Linked DNA regions of Homo sapiens: region 2 is linked to region 1. Evidence: promoter capture Hi-C in 16 types of primary human blood cells and fetal thymus (Javierre and others, 2016). All regions are on one chromosome and are shown on one strand. Each heading gives the region's core, a stretch centred on a gene start or on the middle of the fragment in contact. The rest is flanking DNA. Distances are from core to core; before and after follow the strand shown.

Region 1 (6,004 bases), core at 515-3,014:
CTGGGACTACACGCATGTGCCACCACACCTGGCTAATTTTTGTATTTTTAGTACAAAAATTTTTACTAAAGAAATGTATTTCTAGTAGAGACGGGGTTTCACTATGTTGGCCAGGCTGGTCTTGAACTCCTGACCTTGTGATCCACCTGCCTCGGCCTCCCAAATTGCTGGGATTTCAGGCGTGAGCCACTGCACCCAGCCTGTTTTGGTTTTTTGAGACAGGGTCTCCCTCTGTTGCCCAGGCTGGAGTGCAGTGGCATGATCTCGGCTCACTGCAGCCTCCACCTTTCCGGTTCAAGCGATTCTTGTGCCTCAGCCTCCCAAGTAGCTCACACCCAGCTAAGTTTTGTATTTTTAGTAGAGACAGGGTTTCACCATGTTGGCCAGGCTGGTCTCAAACTCCTGACCTCAGGTGATCTGTCCTTCTTGCCTCCCAAAGTGCTGGGATTACAGGCGTGAGCCACTGCCCCGGCTTGGTTTGTTTTTTGAGACATGGTCTCACTCTGTCGCACAGGACGGAGTGCAGTAGTGTGATCTTGGCTCCCGTGCTCAAGTGATCCTCCCACCTCAGCCTCCCAAAGTGCTGAAATTACAGGCGTGAGCCACGGTACCCGGCCTATATCTCCTAATTAAAAGTAAAGCCTGGGTGAAGTTTATGGCCTGCTAAATACGTACATGTATTATATGCGTTATTATATCCCATGTGTTATATTATATATTATTGTATATGTGTATTATATACTATGTACTATTCTTACAACTGTATGTGAATCTATAATTATCTCAAAGTTTTGTTTTTGTTTTTTAAAGTAAGTTCTGTGAGAACTGGGATTTTGTTTGCTTGTTGACGATTGTGTCTTCATCACTAGAACCGAGTCTGGCGTGCAGTGGGCACTAAATAAGTCTTCGTAAAAAGTGTAAATTAACGCCCGGCTAATTTTTGTATTATTAGCAGCGACGGGGTTTCACCATGTTGGCCAGGCTGGTCTCGAACTCCTGCCCTCAAGCAGGAGTTTCAAGCCCGCCTCGGCCTCCCAAAGTGTTGGAATTACAGGCGTGGGCCACCGCGCCTGGCTGATCATGTTTAAAGGGCGGGGTGGGGAGCGTACAAACAACAGAGGAAATCCTGAGCCGCAGAGGAAACTGGAGATGGCAGGGTTTAGCACTAGAATCTCTGTAGGAGAGGTAAGATTGGAATCCTAATCTCCAGGACTCTTTCCACTACCCAGGCTATCTCTCCATTAATGGACTATTGATTGGATGACAGAGTAGCGATAGCACCGTCTTAGGAGACGCCCAATCATAGGTCATAGGTCATTTTTGCAGCTTATTGTGATGACAACAGTGGAGGATGGTCTTCCACTTCACCTTAAAAGCGGCTGTTCTCTGATTATCATTAAGCATGGCCACGCCCGCACTTAACTTCTGACAGTGGGGAAAGCAGCTGTGTGTGATAGCTTGGAAGGTTTACTGCTGCCTCAAGTCCTCTTCTCTGCAGTTGAGGTTTCAGGTTTCAATCCTCCCAATACCACAAGACAGAGCACGGGGCGGCTGCCGCCTCCGCCTCCGCGCCTTAACCTAGGCGGCTTGCCGAAGATCTCAGCCCCGCGGCCGCGCGCTCGCCCTGCCCTAGACCAGGGTTGGGCGCAGCGGCGGAGGTGGCTTCTGGGCTGCGCGAGCTGGGAGAGCTGGGAGGCGGCGATCGCAGCTGGGCCGGGACTTCCTTCCTCCACCGCACGGCAACAAAACAACCCTGCGGCAGGCACTGAGTGCTTCGCAGCTGTCTGGGCGAGAGGCACAGCGATGGGCTCCGTGCTGAGCACCGACAGCGGCAAATCGGCGCCCGCCTCTGCCACCGCGCGGGCCCTGGAGCGCAGGAGGGACCCGGAGTTGCCCGTCACGTCCTTCGACTGCGCCGTGTGCCTTGAGGTGTTACACCAGCCTGTCCGGACCCGCTGTGGCCACGTGTAAGTTCCAGGGGAGCTCGGTTTGCGCCCACCCCTAAGGAGGGCGATGTGGGGAAGCTGAGGGCATGGTGTGGGGAAGGAGGGGGACGGAAGACAGCCTCTTAGGAAATTGCTGCAGGGAGAAACCTGGACCCGTCGGATGCAGGACCACGGGGAAAACGCGGGTCGGAAGGTGACACAGGATTTCGGGAGGAGAAAAAATAAACAAGCGGGTCCTGTAGCCCCCTTGCGCTTTCAGCTCCCGAAGCCCAGGTGCGGAACTCCAGAGAAGGGGATCCAGGCACGGGTCCCGCCCAGAGCCAGGGCTCGCCAACTGGGGAGGGTGCTCTTGGCTGGAGAACCAGCGCTCGCCCAGGCACGGAAAGGAAACGAGCTCCAGCTACAAGGCAGGGGCTCCCGCAAAGCGCAGTTACCCCGCTGAACACGGTAGAACGGGCTGCGCTTCCCTCTGCCCCAGAAACCCGGGTCCGTTTTGTTTTGCTGGAGCTGTGCACGTGTTCCCAGAATGCCCACAGAGGCTCGTCTTAAGCAAACAAGGATCTGTGCAAAGTGTCTTTCCACCCCCACCCCTGCTACCCTTTCCCAACACAGACACCCAGCCCCTCAAAGGGCAAGTCAAACTGGAGCTTCCGAGTGACTTTCCACAGTTGTTAGAGTTTAACAACCTGCTAGGGTGGGGCTTGGACGTTAGCCGCCAAGCCCCTGAATGTACTCCTTCAAAACCCAGCCACAACGTAACAGGAGGTGGCAGGCTACCTGCTTTACGCACGGTCTCTCCAAACCGGCGGAAATTACAGAGTAAAATAACTTTCTCAAAACCGCATAGTACTTAGCTAAAACTCACAGTTGGTGCAAAGCCGTGGTCGTTTCTAAGAAGAATTTAAAAACAAAGTCCCTATATAAAATTGGCACATCCTTAATGTGTGTTTGAATAACTGGTGGAGTTGGAGCTGTGAATTTGTGCTCTCTGTTTACTGTGTGTGTGTGTGTGTGTGTGTGTGTGTGTTTGAGAGAGAGAGAGAGAGACGTAGTCTGGCTCTGTCGCCCAGGCTGGAGTGCGGTGGTGCTATCTCGGCTCACTGCAACCTCCGCCCACTGCAACCTCCGCCTCCCAGGCTCAAGTGAGTCTCCTGCCTCAGCCTCCCGAGTTGCTGGGATTACAGGCGCCCACCCCCACACCCGGCTAGTTTTTGAATTTTGAGTAGAGATGGGGTTTCACCATGTTGGCCAGGCTGGTCTTGAACTCCTGACCTCAATTGATCCACCCACCTCGGCCTCCCAAAGTGCTGGGATTAAAGGTGTGAGCCACTGCACCCAGCCTTCTCTCTTTGCTTTGATTTTTTTTCGTGGATACGTGTGTGTGTGTTGTGTCTGCACAGATCAGGAGCGGAAGCCTACTTAATGTCCTTTGAAGGGTGACTATAGTATGATGAAGCCATGTGTGATACCACAGTGGCTTGTACCAGCATTTGGCTTAGCAGGAAGAAAGAAATACCGTTATTATGAATGCAAGTGCACAACATGTTTTTGAGGACCACTTTTGAAAGGATTTAGGTAGTCCTTAAAAACATGTTGTGCACTTGCAGTCAAAAGTTTTGACGCCCGGCGTGGTGGCTCACACCTGTAATCCTAGCACTTTGGGAAGCCGAGGTGGATGGATCACCTGAGGTCAGGAGTTCGAGACCAGCCTGGCCGACATGGTGAAACCTCGTCTCTACTAAAAATACAAAAATTAGCCAGGTGTGGTGACCCGTGCCTGTAATCCCAGCTACCTGGGAGGCTGAGGCAGGAGAACTGCTTGAACCTGGGAGGCAGAGGTTGCAGTGAGCTGAGATGGCATCATTGCACTCTAGCCCGGGCAACAGAGCAAAACTCAGTCTCAAAAAAAAGAAAGAAAAAAAAGAAAGTTTTGAAAGGACTTAGGTAATCCTTAATACCTATAGCCTTGTATCTGAAAAGCAGTTTTCACTACTGCCCGTCTGTGAGCCAGGGACAAAAGTGTGCAGCCTGCACAATGTATAAATAAAGAGTGCTTTGGGCATTATTTCGTAGCTGTGTTTTCTTTTCTTTTGAGATGGAGTCTTGCTGTGTTGCCCAGGCTGGAGTGCAGTGGCACGATCTTGGCTCACTGCAAGCTCCGCCTCCCGGGTTCACGCCATTCTCCTGCCTCAGCCTCCCGAGTAGCTGGGACTACAGGTGCCGCCACCACGCCCGGCTAATTTTTTTGTATATTTAGTAGAGACGGGGTTTCACCGTGTTAGCCAGGATGGTCTTGATCTCCTGACCTCGTGATCTGCCCGCCTCGGCCTCCCAAAGTGCTGGGATTACAGGCGTGAGCCATGGAGCCCGGCCGTAGCTGTATTTTCAAGGCCTGTTGTTTCAGCTTTGTTCTTAAAACTCGAGGCTTAAATTTACCCTCCTTTCTATTACTGATGTTGTTGCTCAGCTGTCCAGATGTAGCTTATTAACATAATATCCACAGGCCAGTCTGGAAGCCAAGATGGGCTGTGTGAGTCATAAAATATATTGATTATTTTAGGGCAATAACAGCCTAAAGATATCTCCATTTAAATTGAGTCATTATTAGCATTAAAACTTTAAAGTTGTGCAAAACATAAACAGTGGGCGTTTTGAAGATTCTTTTTGGAACAGACCGCTTTGCTATTCAATGATCTGACTGGAGATTGTTTTCTCGGTTTGGACTTTGAATATTATAATTTACCATTTACAATATTTTTCCTTCTACTAAAGGATAATATAAATTTGCAAAATGTTAAATTTTTTGTTTAATCTTTTTCTTTGTTAAAGTGAATAGGAAACTAGCAACTGGAAAAATAGTCATAAAATAGCATTACAAGGGCTGAACAAATTGCCTTTCCTCTCTTTACTGTTCTTTGTTTTGACAAATCTATGTCCATTGTTCTGGCTGTGGGCAGAATTTCCATATTCCTCCTTTTGGCAAACTTACTTGGTCCCCTTCCACTTTATAAATGTTAACCAGAGTCCTTTCTGCAGTAGAGATTGTGAGCGTTAATACCATTTGTACATTCTAAATGAATTACTCTTTTCCATTGAAATTAAGTTGGAAAACGAATAAATGCAAATGAACCTTCTGTATTTTATTATCCCATATTGAAGCTACATTTTCAGACATGTTGAACTAGGTGGTTTATGCTGATTTTTGTTTGTAAACCTATTTCAAGTCAAACAAGTTTAATAATAACAACAGTACCTTGAATGAATATGTAAGAGCACTTTATAAGTTGTATTGTGATGCAGTAGTAACTGGCCCTTACAGAGAGCTGGATTTGAAATTCACCTCTGCCACTAGCCAGATGTGTGACCACTTTAGGGAAATTTGAATTTGATTTTTTTCCCCTAAAGTTTTGATCATTTGAGTCTATGAAACAAACTGCTAATAGATTAACAAGGGGGGAAAAGCTTACAAATGTATTAATGAGCATATGGGCATGGGAGTCATACAAAATATGAAAACTGAGAGAAAGGGCCAGATGCTTGATGCTTTTATACCATCTTGAGGTTACAGCAGAGTAGGGGCTTGGAACATGGTTATGGGAGGGAGAAAGAAAGAAGGGGCTGGGGCAAAGATGGTCTAGTTATGCAGATGAAACTTCATAGATAGCAGCTCCTAGAAAGAATAGGCATGAGCCTGTGTTAAGTTGCTCTGTCAGACCTTCGTAGGTGTCAGACTTTCAGTTAATAATTTCCTAGGTACAGATAAGGGGGTGCCTCCAAGAAAGCCTGGTTGTTTATTTCACCAGTGTAGATTTTCTCTACAGATGCAAGTCTCCTCCACAAAAGGCAGCTTTTCAGGGTTATTCCTGTGGGAATATATCAAAGAAGTACATTTTGGGGTGAAATATTTTCAGTTTCCTTTAGTCCCCCATTTAAAGCTTAATTTTTAAAACATTAAACATTTCCTTTATTTTTATTATTTATTTATTTATTTTTAGCGGTGAGATCTCACTCTGCCACCCAGGCTGCAGTGTAGTGGTGCAATCATGGCTCACTGCAGC
Region 2 (5,491 bases), core at 198-2,697, 460 kb before region 1:
AATAACTCAAAAACAGAAAGTCATTTGAGACCAGCCTTACCAACATGGAGAAGCCCCATCTCTACTAAAAATATAAAATTAGCCGGGTGTGGTGGTGCATGCCTGTAATCCCAGCTACTCGGGAGGCTGAGGCAGGAGAATCGCTTGAACCTGGGAGGCGGAGGTTGCGGTGAGCCGAGATCTCACCATTGCACTCCAGCCTGGGCAACAAGAGTGAAACTCTGTCTCAAAAAAAAAAAAAAAAAAAAAACCGTATGTTCTCACTTATAAGTGGAAGCTAAACAGTGGGTACACGTGGGCATACAGAGTGGAATAATAGACACTGGGGACTCCAAAAGGTGAGAAGGGAGGAGAAAGTAAGGATTGAAAAATTACCTCTTGGGTACAACGTTCACTGTTCCGGTGATGGGTACACTAAAAAGCCTAGATGTAACTGTTATGCAATCCGAGCATGTAAACAATCTGCAGCCGGGCTTGGTGGTTCATGCCTGTAATCCCATCACTTTGGGAGGCCAAGGCAGCAGGATTGCTTGAGCCCAGGAGTTCTAGACCAGCCTGGGCAACATAGTGAGACCTCGTCTTTACAAAAATTTTAAGAAATTAGGTGGCCATGGTGGTGTACACCTGCGGTCTCAGCTGCTTGGGCGGCTGACATGGGAAGATCACTAGAGCCCAGGAATTCAAGGCTGCAGTGTGCCATGACTGTGCCACTGTACTCCAGCCCAGATGACAAAGACTATGCTTTAAAAAAATGAAAATTTAAAAATCCTGCACTTGTACCCCTGAAATATATAAAAATAGAAACAGAAACATAAATAATAATAAAATGCATTTCTTTTACACATAAAACAAATAAAAGTAAAGTACTTGAAATTAGACGATTCCAGAAAATTGTTGACATGTTTGTTCCCCTAACAATTTGGTACTTTGGTCTCCTTTATGAAACTGTGAAAGCTCCGAGCCAAAAGCTTTGTCTTTCTTCATTCTTGCATCTTTAGTACATATCACAATGCTTTATATATGACACGTGCATGACTATTTGTTGTTAATTGAATGGTATATCATATTTCAATAGACATTTTCCCCAACATTCTATTGGAAAACTTTTCACACACATAGCAAACTGAAAGAATTTTCAGTGAACACTTGAATTTCTACCACCAAGATTTCACTATTAATATTTTACTGTTCTTAGTTTATTACATATCTATCCATGTCTGTATCCATTGATCAATCCATCTTATTTCTCTTGGTGAATTTCAAATTAAATTATAGCCATAAGTATACTTAAATACATCCATACGCTGAACACATCAGAGTTGAATTACAGTTCAAGATTTATTTACATTTTTTTTCTTCTGAGGCAAAATCACATAGCATGAAATGCACCAATTTTAAGTGTACATTTGCTAAGTTTTGAAGAATGCATACACCCGTGTAACCAAACCCCTTTCAAGATGTGAAAATGACCATGACCCCAGAAAATACCAATACCTCTTCCTGCTCAGGCCTCATCTCTATCTCTGAGAGGCAATGACTTTTTTATTTAAATTTTTTTTAGTTTTGCCTCTCCTAGAACTTTATATAAATGGAGTCATATAGTGTGGACTCTGGAATAGACTTCTATCACTCAGCATAATTTTTTGAGATTCATCTAGGTTGTGTGTACCAGTAACACATTTCTTTTTGTAGAAAAGAAACTATTTTGCAATGGAATGCAGTAGCGTTCTATTGTATAATTATGTCAAAATTGTTTTTCCATTCTCATATTGATGGACACCCAGACTGTCTTCAGTTTTGTGTTATCAAAAATGAAGCTACTATAAACATTCATGTTCAAGCCTTGGTGGCCATATGTTTTCATTGCTCTGGGGCAAATACCTAAATTGCTGGGTCATGGGGTAAATGTATGTGTAGACATTTTTTAGAAGCTTTTTTTTTTTTTTAACAAAAATGCCAGGCTATACTTACCATGCTTTTTCTCTCCTAGTTTGCCAATTTATTATTTATTTATTTATTTATTTTCTTGAGACAAGGTCTCACTCTGTTGCCCAGGCTGGAGTGCAGTGGCACAATCATAGCTCACTGCAGCCTCAATCTCCCAGACTCAAGTGATCCTTCTGCCTCTGCCTCCAGAGTAGATGGGACCACAGGCACGCACCACATCAAGCTATTTTTTTTATATATTTTTTGTAGAGATGGGGATTTGCTATGTGGCCAAGGCTGGTTTTGAACTCCTGGGCTCAAGTGATCCTCCCAACTCGGCCTCCCAAAGTGCTGGCACTGCCCCTGGACTAGCTTGCCAATTTAAAAGAAATCCCTGAGTAAGAGCACCCAAGGTCCGCTGAATGCCCTTCACCTCACTCGGAATTCTAGAGCATCCGAGGATCTTTCCATTCCATATGATACACACCCTACCACACACTCAACCAACAGCTGACTGGATGAGAGAGGTACTGAACCTAAAAGTGGCCATCTGCAGGTTGTCTAGAAGCCCAAGAGATAGACTGTTCAAAGATCTGGCCACAATGGGATGACAAAGAATAATCAGTCCAGCTAACTCCCTTCTTATTAATTAGAAATGGAGACACTGGAAAGAGACATTTAGTTAAAAGTGGACACAGAAGGAAAAAGACACACAAGCAAAGCATTCTTCAGATTTCTTTGAGAGCAGCTAAATTGATGGTTAAAGAGACATGCGGAAATTCATGCTTTTCTAAGGAATGAGCTCTTTAGGAGTTTCTCTTGCAAACAAAGAGAAATAAAATTCCCACATAATCTGGAGCACTCTAAGGAAGGGTAGAAAAATCCATGTTCTTGCTAGTACAGGACTTAGAGTCTTAAAAATTAGAGAAATTCGTTTAAGATTTATAGTCTTAAAAATTAGAAAAATCCACCCACCTGATCCACATTGAGAAGCTGGAATGAAATAAAAATAAAGATAATGATTAAAAGGAATATTCCCTCAATATTTCCACTCCCTGCATCCCCGACCCGTCTGCGTCTCCCTCTACTCTCATACATACTCCAGTAATATTTGGCCAAAAGTAGAAGCCAGGGGGTTAGAAAAAGAAATAGGATAAACCAAGACAAACTATCAAGGAAGTAAAAGGAACATAGAGGCAAACAAAATCCTCATGTCTCTTTCCCCCTCCTCCTGACATAGCCCTGATAACTAGGGAGGAAGAGCATCTGCTACCGGGTGCATCCTCTGAACATTCCAATGACCCGACCCATGGAAAGAGAACCAAATTCTTCAGCCCAGCTTCTAGGATCTTACCTCAAGAGAGTCTTAAAATTATGAAAAGATATGTATATAAGGATGTTTGCTACTATGTTGTTTATCATGTAAAAATTGTAAACAGCAGGTTATTGGTAGAGTTCCTTCAAAATGAGCTGTGGGCCGGGTGTGGTGGCTCACACCTGTAATCCCAGCACTTTGGGAGGCCAAGATGGGAGGATTACCTGAGGTCAGGAGTTCAAGATTAGCCTAGCCAACACGGTGAAACCCCATCTCTACTAAAAATACAAAAAGTTAGCCATGTGTGGTGGCGGATGCCTGTAATCCCAGCTACTGAGGTGGCTGAGGCAGAAGAATTGCTTGAACTCGGGAGGCGGAGCTTGCAGTGAGCCGAGATCACGCCACTCCTCTCCAGCCTAGGTAACAGAGCGAGACTCCATCTCAAAAAAAAAAAAAAAAAAGAAAAAAATCAGCTCTGTGCAGTGCTACATGTGGATTAATGAAGCATTGAAAGTTACAACCCTTTTGGTAATTGCAAGGGAACCTGGAATAGATCTACCCACCATGCTATCTGACCTTTCTAAACTTGTGTGTCAGTTGCAAGGTTTATTGGTCCACTTTTTAGATGAGCAAGCCAAAGGTGAGGTTCATGCAACTGTGGCACACCTATACACAGGTAAAGCTTTTGGACACAGTGGCCTCTGTTACTCAAGGGTTCTTACCCCAGTCAAAGGGTGTTCTACTGCAAGTAGTTCTTAAGAGAGAAAATTCAATGTGCATTTCCCTTTGGAATAATAATACTCTGAAGCACAGAGAGAACCTGGCACACGACAAGGGTGATGGTGATCACACCACTAGTAAAGAATCCAGTATGCACTGGGTACCTTCTCTGGACAGGCCCTATGCTGAGCATTTCTCATACTATTGTCTGATTTGATCCTCACAACAGTCCTAGTGATCAGTACTATCTATTATTTTGCCCCCATTTGATGGGTGAGTTGGAGAAGCTATACAATATATAAAGCTGGTGGTTTGTCTCTTGGCTTTTGCATCATCAGACAGTTCACCCCAGCTAAAGAAATGATGACGGGAACAAGAAAAAAGCCAAGGTTAAGGGCACTTCAGAACTTCAGAAAAACATTTGTTGCCTCTTCCAATTTTTGGATTTGTTGGGACAGAGAAAGGCTGTTTAAAAACAATTCAAGAGCCAAAGACATACAAGTGTTTGTTTCTTGGTTTTTCTTTAAATGCCCTAAGCTATTTTTCATCTCTAAAAAAAAGCACAGGGTAGAAATTTCCATTCACCTGTGACTGGCTAATCTTTAGCGATCACTTAGCAACTGGGTAACAAATGGAGGTTGGCAAAGCCCAGCTGATTAGCATTCTTTTTTAGTCAAAAGATCAGAGTTATCACAAGGCACGGCCAACAGCTCTGAGGCTTACAGGCAATGGAAAGGTCAGACAAAGTCGCTGTTCGTTTTGTTTGTCTTTTTTTTTTTCCTTCAGAGCAAAACAAGTTTTCTTTGTTTATTTGGTTTAAAAAACTCATAAGATCTTTGCAAGAGAACAGATCCTGGATTGTGGGAAGGGTCCCCAGCTTGCTCAGTAGAGCTTCTCAGTTTTTCTATCTCTACAGAAATCTACATCAGCCCATAATGAAGATCGGCTATGAAATGCTTTGAAGTCTCTACAAAAAAATTAATTGTACAATAGATTTTCACCAGTGGAGCAAATAACAGCAATAATTTGCAATAAGTGAGGAAAACACATTTACAATCACAAAGAGAATTAAAAGAAGCTTGAGAGACCAACTAGTCCAATCCTCCCATTAGGACATACCTCCCGACCAGTGAAAGGAGGAAGGGGGCCACTAGGTATCATTCTTGGTTATCCACTCCCAGGGTTCACAGCATCTGTATCAGGAAGTTCTTTCTTAAGTTTCACTGGAGTCCCTCTTGCTACTATTTCCAGCTAATCTCTTCTTGTAACTCTTCATAAAAGAGGCATCAATCTTTCTTAAGAGCTATCTTAGTCTTGCTTGATGTGCGTAATGAATTCATGAAGACCTTTCTCTTCTCCAGGTTCAATTTTTAAATCCACTGGGGCTGGCAGCAGGACTGGACTTTCTAAGTCCTGAACATAGAAAGATTTATAACACAGCCCTTGGCTGCAAGGAGCTTATGTTTTCATGGGGTAAAGTAGATGTTTAAAGAAATGATGGCAGCAGAGTGTTATTGTGTAAAGTTCTGA

Evidence for each region. The method cuts DNA at HindIII sites, captures the fragments that hold promoters and counts their contacts. A CHiCAGO score of 5 or more calls a contact.
Region 2: a contact is called between a fragment that was not itself captured here and the fragment with the promoter of RNF125 in region 1, in 1 of 17 cell types (fetal thymus). The highest score is 6.2, in fetal thymus.

What each region holds. Positions count from the first base shown.
Region 1 is chr18:32,017,061-32,023,064 of GRCh38, forward strand. It overlaps RNF125 (ring finger protein 125), which reads left to right and starts at 1,765. Exons shown (of 6, transcript NM_017831.4): 1 at 1,765-1,967. The coding sequence starts at 1,804. RefSeq lists enhancers at 1,087-1,959, 1,366-1,660, 1,960-2,832, 2,477-2,526 and a silencer at 1,366-1,660. The HindIII fragment of the contact is 17,285 bases long and covers 1-5,406 here.
Region 2 is chr18:31,558,316-31,563,806 of GRCh38, forward strand. No RefSeq gene overlaps it. Among named protein-coding and RNA genes, the nearest start is that of DSG2-AS1, 4.2 kb to the left of the region's middle. The HindIII fragment of the contact is 963 bases long and covers 967-1,929 here.